Regions from separate parts of the Homo sapiens genome. Here region 1 is linked to region 2. The links are contacts of gene promoters, found by promoter capture Hi-C in blood cells and fetal thymus (Javierre and others, 2016). All regions are on one chromosome and are shown on one strand. Each heading gives the region's core, a stretch centred on a gene start or on the middle of the fragment in contact. The rest is flanking DNA. Distances are from core to core; before and after follow the strand shown.

The links. The method cuts DNA at HindIII sites, captures the fragments that hold promoters and counts their contacts. A CHiCAGO score of 5 or more calls a contact.
Region 1: a contact is called between a fragment that was not itself captured here and the fragment with the promoter of ZNF783 in region 2, in 1 of 17 cell types (naive CD8 T cells). The highest score is 9.3, in naive CD8 T cells.

What each region holds. Positions count from the first base shown.
Region 1 is chr7:151,515,858-151,519,689 of GRCh38, forward strand. RHEB (Ras homolog, mTORC1 binding) reads right to left here. Exons shown (of 8, transcript NM_005614.4): 1 at 3,603-3,832. The coding sequence starts at 3,654. Among named protein-coding and RNA genes, the nearest start is that of RHEB, 2.1 kb to the right of the region's middle. RefSeq lists an enhancer at 2,169-2,218 and silencers at 3,249-3,358, 3,289-3,718, 3,429-3,548, 3,719-3,832. The HindIII fragment of the contact is 1,993 bases long and covers 341-2,333 here.
Region 2 is chr7:149,259,853-149,263,471 of GRCh38, forward strand. ZNF783 (zinc finger protein 783) reads left to right here and starts at 2,344. Exons shown (of 6, transcript NM_001195220.2): 1 at 2,344-2,505. The coding sequence starts at 2,482. LOC124901769 (a long non-coding RNA gene) reads right to left here and starts at 2,489. Exons shown (of 2, transcript XR_007060582.1): 1 at 1,795-2,489. RefSeq lists a silencer at 1,942-2,811. The HindIII fragment of the contact is 3,928 bases long and covers 1,527-3,619 here.

The DNA.
Region 1 (3,832 bases), core at 87-2,586, 2.3 Mb after region 2:
CCCCCTATGATCTTTCACATGCCTGTGATCCCATCCCTCTTATTAACTGTATGTAAGAGGCTTATATATGACAACCAGCTTTTAATTATGGTCTAATGGTAAACTAGGTTACCAAAGCTCTCTGTACAGGTAAAATCCCAGTGAAAGATGTACCAGGCTGAAGACAGTTTACGTAACACTACCATTTTAAGTTGAGTTACTTCCTATCGCGGGACTACTCCGTTGTGGTAGAAATAACGGAATGTCAGGGAGCTGGTACTTTTGGCCATCACGGCAACAGTTAATACAAAGCACTCCCTGAAAGCCAGACTCCCAGAGTTATAGGTGACGTGTCCTTAAAAGCTTTAACATTGTAAATACCAGGAAAAGTACAGGGGACTGGCAGGGAGAATTGTATAGACTACCTGAGAATTATATTTTACCTATTGGTAGTTCTGACAACACTCAAAAAAAAAGAAAAAAAGAAAACGGAAAGCCAAGTAGTGGGCTGGGTGCAGTGACTCATGCCTGTAATCCCAGCACTTAGGGAGGCCGAGGCAGGTGGATCACGAGGTCAGGAGTTCAAGACCATCCTGGCCAAGATGGTGAAACCCAGTCTCTACTAAAAATACAAAAATTAGCTGGGCGGGGTGGCAGGCGCCTGTTATCCCAGCTACTTGGGAGGCTGAGGCAGGAGAATCGGTTGAACCTGGGCAGCAGAGGTTGCAGTGAGCCCAGATCCCGCCACTGCACTCCAGCCTGGGTGATAGAGTGAGACTCTGTCACAAAAAAAAAAAAAAAAAAAAAAGAAAGCCAACTAGTTAAACAAACATAGCACTTTTTTGTTTTATCTGAAGACAACTTTAAAAATAAAGTTTGTGGCATGACAAATCACAATGACAAGTATCCTACTAGTCAAACTGGCTTAATGTATTTAATCAAGAGAACATTCTAAGAAAGGTGTGGAGGCTTTTTATGTGGCTCTACCCCCAGAATATAGGACAAACAGCTCAGCATCACAAAATACCACAATCTAGAAACACAGGTACTCAAATTTCTCTGGTACAGCACCACCATTTGCAAGCAAACATGCCAGTAAGCTCCCAGAAGTGAGCATGCTGAGTAATTCTCAAAAGGGTGGCTTACTAGAAGAAACCTGCTGGCAAAACCTAATCTCCTTCCCCTAAAAAAGACCCCACATACTACAAAATATCCTGGCTCATAATACACTTTAAAATCAAATGCGGCTGGGCATGGTGGCTCACGCCTATAATCCCAGCACTTTGGGAGGCCAAGGTGGGAGGACCACCTGAGGTCAGGCGTTTGAGACAAGCCTGACGTTTGGCCAAGTGGTGAAACCCGTCTCTACTAAAAATACAAAATTAGCCGGGCATAGTGGTGCACGCCTGTAGTGCCAGCTACTCTGGAGGCTGAGGCAGGAGAATCGCTTGAGTCCGGGGCGTGGAGGATGCAGTGAGCCGAGATCGCGCCATTGCACTCCAGCCTGGGTCACAAGAGCGAAACTCCGTCTCGGAAAAAAAAAAAAAAAAAAATCAAATACAAGATTGGGAGCAACTTAACCTCTCCAAAATCGTTTAATATGACTACGCTTGAAAATAAATATGGAGAAGTGGGGTAGGTTGCAGAAATATGAAATACTGAAGACAGAAAATAGGGACTAAAAGTGACCCTGTATCCCACCGGAGACTAAGTTAGCACAGTATTTAACAAGCAACAGTTTGTGAGGACAAGGCTAAGGGGTGGCCTGTCACATCTCCGTCCTCAGGAGGACGCTGAATAGAGGGAAGATAAAACAGAATGGATTTCAACTGGACATAAGGAACTTCTGTAGCCAAAAAAAAAAAAAAAAAAGTGATAAAACTAGCCCTGCTCACCAAAGACTAGAGCTACCATTTCGACATTTGAAAAGGGTAAATCAGTCAAGATCTTTAGGTCATTCTCTTGGGTTGAAATCAGGTAGCCGAGGTACTTGTTGCCTATAACGTGATTATTCAGGGACTACTATTTCCAAATAGTTGCCAATAAGTACTTACTTGACTGACTAGGGAAGGCTCACCCAAGAGCCAGAACACCTCGCGGTCCCAACTCCTCAAAATGCAGAGGAGGAAATCAAGAGAACAGAGACAAGAGCATGGATTCAGGCTGCCAATAAAGGCTGGATCCCAGGTTCCATGTTGATATTTGAACAATTAGTGACTTTGAACCCCTCCATTTGATTCATGGTTACTTCCTGGCTGCAGCTGTTAAAGCTGCCACCTATGCATCCCCTCGGATTCAGCACCGCATCGCACAAGAGTTCCCCTACGACTCTAGGCACCCCGCATCTCTAGCCAAGCTTCTTTCAGCCCTTAATTTCCCCCCGGCTCTCGACGGAGAGGTGGTAAAAGGATGAGTAAGCATGCAGTGGCTGATCTTGGTCAAAGAGCACAGACCCTGGCACAGGCGGTGGAAAGCGCAGTTGGGGAGTGCATCCAGTGAGCGGCAGGCAGGTACAAGCTTCCCATGACAGATAGTCACCCCGTTCCGCAATCACGGGAGCCTCGGAACCCTCGCTTTCACCTCCCCATCCCCTCAACTGTGGCCCGGTGCACGCCTTCTATAGACAGTTACTTCAAAACAGCCCGAAAAGATGAACTAATTTCTCCAGGCTTCCGGATGTCGGGAGACAATACAGCCTCACCCTGAAGCGTGTCTAAGTTCAATCGCTCTGGTTTCACACAGGCCAGAAAACCGCTCGTTCTGTAACACCCCGTCCGCCCCCCAACCCGACCCTAAGCCACCTTATTCAGCAATAAGGCGACTGCTAGGAACTGTTTCAAATGTATGTCAACCTTTTGGGGGAAGAAAAAGAAAACAAAAAGACTTTGGAATTACTTCAACAGCCTGGTTGCAAGTACCTGACCTTATTCCTTCCCGAACAAAAATAGGGCACCGAGAGATCAGACATTCCTTTTTCTCTGTCTTCCTACCCAGGCCGCCAGCAGCATCTCGAGGGCCTCCAGAGGGACCTCTTTTGGGGGATCGCCTAGGTTTCCTATGCAGAAAACTTGCGTTCAGTGCCCAAACGTCCTCTAAATCCCTAGTTTTCTTTACAAGGGTAAACTTCACCACAGATGGAATGAAGCCGAGGCGCTGCTTCCTTTGTTAAAATCCCACGGACTTTCTTTTCCTTACATCGGGGGCGGGGTGGGGGAGACCGCCAGCCCCGGTCACGCGCGCCCGCGGCGAAGGCGGGGAGGCAGGTGTGACTCCCTCGCGGCAGCCTCTAGCGCGGCTCCCCGGCGCCGCCTCACTTCCCCAGACGAGACCCGGACTCCTCGGCGGCCGACGGCCCCCGCCCCGCGCCTCCCACGCCCTCCGCCCGGCCGCCACCTGCCCGCCCGGCCCGCGGAGGGCGCCCAGCTACCGCGGCTCCTCCACCGGCGCGGACGCCGCCCCGACCGCCACCACCTCCGCTCAGAATGGTGGTTACGAAACGCGCGGCCCCCGCCCGCCCCGCCACATGGCCGCGCCGGCTCCAAACTTCGCAGGCCCGGCCGCGACCCGGCTCCCAGGCGAGGCCCCGGCGGCGCGAGGAGGCCGCGCGGCCACCGGCCACTCACCCACAGACCGGTAGCCCAGGATCGCGATCTTCCGGGACTTGGACTGCGGCATCTTGGCGGCCTCCTCAGCCCCGGCCCAACCACATCAACCGCGGCGGCGGTGGCTCCTGCTGCTGTGATCGGCGGCGGCCGCGCCGGGAGAGAGCGGCATACAGAGCAGGGGCGGCGGCGGGCGCGGCTGCCTCTCGCTCGCTAGCTCGCGCGCTCCCAACCGCCCGGAACCGACCGCG
Region 2 (3,619 bases), core at 1,094-3,593:
ATCTCCTGAGGTCAGGAGTTTGAGACCAGCCTGGCCAACATGGTGAAACCCCGTCTCTACTAAAAATACTAAAAATTAGCCTGGCATGGTGGCAGGAACCTGTAATCCCAGCTACTCGGGAGGCTGAGGCAGGAGAATCTCTTGAACCTGGGAGGTGGAGGTTGCAGTGAGCCGAGATCGTGCCATTGCACTTCATCTTGGGCAACAAGAGCGAAACTCCGTCTTAAAAAAAAAAAGCCACCATGTAATTTTAATTTATATCAGAGCTGGCTTGACACCCCGGCTGGTCTGCTCAGAAACCACATTATGGTGCAAAGTGTTCGTTTATTAAATATATTTATAAAATCTGAGCATGGGAATGGGAGGTAGCTGTGGGACCCTGATAAACAGTGCCAAGGTTTTCGAACTGTGATCACCAGACCAATAGAATCAGCATTTCTTGGGAACTAGTTAGAATTGCAAATTCGCATCACTTTCATCCCCTCCTGTTTCAGACCTAGAAATGTTGAGGTTTGTGCCTAGCATCCTGTATTTTTAACAAGAACCCTCAGTGAACATGATGCACACTGAAGTTTGAGTACCACTGACTTAGAGAAACTTTTTTTCTAAAAAACGAAGACTAGCTGTCAAACATTATAGCACTCTTTCCTCAACAGAGCTCATTAAATCCTAGCATTTTTGTCTCCAGCCCATTTTCCTGACCCTTTCTTTCTTTCTTTTTCTTTTTTTTTTTTTTTGAGATGGGGTTTTGCTCTTGTTGCCCAGGCTGGAGTGCAATGGCATGATCTCGGCTTACTGCAACCTCTGCTTCCCGGGTTCAAGCGATTATCCTGCCTCAGCCTCCAGAGTACCTCACCACCACACCCAGCTAATTTTTTGTATTAGTAGAGATGGGGTTTCATCATGTTGGCCAGGCTGGTCTCGAACTCCTGACCTCAGGTGATCCATCCGCCTCAGCCTCCCAAACTGCTGGGATTACAGGCATGAGCCACGGCTCCTGGCCCATTTTCCTGACCCTTTCTGTTTGCATTGGACCTTAACTGTTATTCTATAACGTCACCATTTACTGGTATTTTATAATCCTGAATAGATTGGACTGATCCCTGATAAGATCCTAGGGATGCTCTTAATGTCTTTAGTGCATACTTGCAGTTTGTGTTTTAGATTGGGATAGTTCAACAAGAATTTCCAAAATGAATAATGCCAAATATTTATTTGATTTGTTACCTTAAAGTAACACGTCCTAACCTTTCCGCAAATTTTGGGGTTCACCTTACTTAGGATATCAGTTTGTGTTTTTTCTGATAGTTGACCACGCTTTTGCTTGGCTCAAATATTTGTGAAAATAACTTCTCACCCTCACCCCCCCCCCCCAAAAAAGAAAAAACAAAACCAAAACCAAAAAACCCCAAACAAACCCAAACACAGAAAGAAACAAAACTGCAGATTTCTAGCGGGAAGAGTTTGCCAGCTTGTTGGACAAAGACTGTGAGATGAATGGGAAATGCAGAAAAGACAGAAAACAAAGCTTCAACTGCATACAGCACATTTAGTTCAATATGCCTCAGCACAGGCCGAGGAAAATGGGTCCTGCGGTTTATTCAAGATGCCTCAGGGCCTAAATGAGGGATGGACTGATTCACACTTGCTGTGATCTCAGCCTGGACCAAAGCTACAGAAGGGTCCTCGTGGGTGGCTGAGGACTTTCACCAGGCGGGCCCCGGGAGGAGGAAGGGACCCCAGAGTCCTCAGGAGGGGAGGGCAGGCTTAGGAAAAAAAAAAAAAAAATCCTACCATCTTCACGTTTGTTCTGTCAAATTTAAAAGAGACTTTAAAAACGTTCATGTAAGTTTCCCTGGCTTCTCCCTGGGTACACACGTATCCTTTTTACTTTCCCCAACTCAGTTCTGTGGTGCGTGGGAGGCGCTGCAACAGAGTCTCGGTCCGGACTGGAGCCCCGGCGAGGGCCGACCCCGTTCCCCACGCAGCTTTCCCTCGCGAGGTTTCGCACTTTCCAGCGCGGTTCCTTCCCGCAGCCCTCCCGGCTCCCGCGTGGGACGCAGAGAGAGGTTGGGCGCCGCGCTGGCCCGGGAGTGGCTTACGCCTGACGTAGCCCCGCTGGAGGCCGTGGCACGCCCGCCCTGGCGTCAACTCCCGCGCCCCGGGTGAGGGTGGGTGGCCGCGCCTGGGTCCCGGACGCCGCGGGCGCTGAAGGCCTCGGGAGGGCGCGGGGCGGCGGCCGCGGGCGTGCGGTCCTACGGGCTGCAGGGGGCGCTGTGCGCGTCCTCAAGCTCGGCCGCCGAGCGCAGCTCTTTTTTAAAGGGCCAGCGGGGCACGTGGCTCGGGACGCAGTTCGCTGCCGCCCGGCAGTAGCTCTCAGGTTAGGCGGGTCCCGCTCCGCTTCCGCCGTCGCTGCCGCGCCGCCCCGGGCCCGACAGGCCGGGTCCAGGGACTGCAACCCAGCGAGGGACGCGGGCAGCCATGGCCGAAGCGGCGCCTGCCCGGGTAAGCGCCCTCGGCCCCGCGGACGCCCGGAAGGCCCAGGCCGCCGCCGCGTGAGCCCGCGCGAGGGACTCTGGCCGCGCGAGGCCGCGGGGTGAGAGGGCCTTGCGCGCAGCCTCCGCGCTCGTTGCCCCCGGCCCATCGCCCAGCCCGCGTCGAAGGCATTGACCGGGCGGCCCAAATGCCAGGCCCGGCGGGCGGGGCCCCGACGTCAGCGGCTGACGATCCGGCCCATCTGCGGCCTCAGCCAGGCCGGGCCCCAGAGTCACGCTCGGCGACGAGGAGGCCGCGCCTTAGGAGTATTGTCCCATTTGAGGCCTCGCGGCCCCCCCTACAGCAGGCTGGGCGGGCAGGGGCCGCCAGCCCCACGGGACAGTAGCGGAGGCTGAGATGGGAAGGGACAGGCCCAGGGTCACGCATCTATTAGAGGCGGGAGCCTCACGCCGGGGCAGGGATTTTGGAATTAGACACTTTAAAACGCCTCATATTCTACTTTTGCCAAAGAGAAAGATTGTGTCGTTTACAAGAGAGATAGTAGATTTTTTTAAAAAAGATTACTGTAGCAGATTTTATTTAATTTTTTTTTTTGAGAGGGAGTCTCGCTCTGTTGCGCATGCTGGATGGAGTGCAGTGGCACGATCTCGGCTCACTGCAAGCTCCGCCTCCCGGCTTCAAGGGATTCTCCTGCCTCAGCCTCCCAAGTAGCTGGGACTACAGGCGCCTGCTACCACGCCTGGCTAATTTTTCTATTTTTGGTAGAGACTGGGTTTCACTATGTTGGCCAGGCTGGTCTCGAACCCCTGACCTCGTGATCTGCCCGCCCCGGCCTCCCAAAGTGCTGGGATTACAGACGAGAGCTACCGCGCCCGGCCATTTTAAAATTTTTTAATTAAAAAAGTATATATATATACGTGTGTGTGTGTGTGTGTGTGTGTGTGTGTGTGTGTGTGTATATATATATATATATATATTTTTTTTTTAGACACAGTCTCACTCTCACCCAGGGTGGAGTGTAGTGGCGGGATCTCATCTCACTGCAACCTCTGCCTCTGCCTCCCGGGTTCAAGGTATTCTCCTGCCTCAGCCTCCCAATCCCAAGTAGCTGGGATTACAGGCG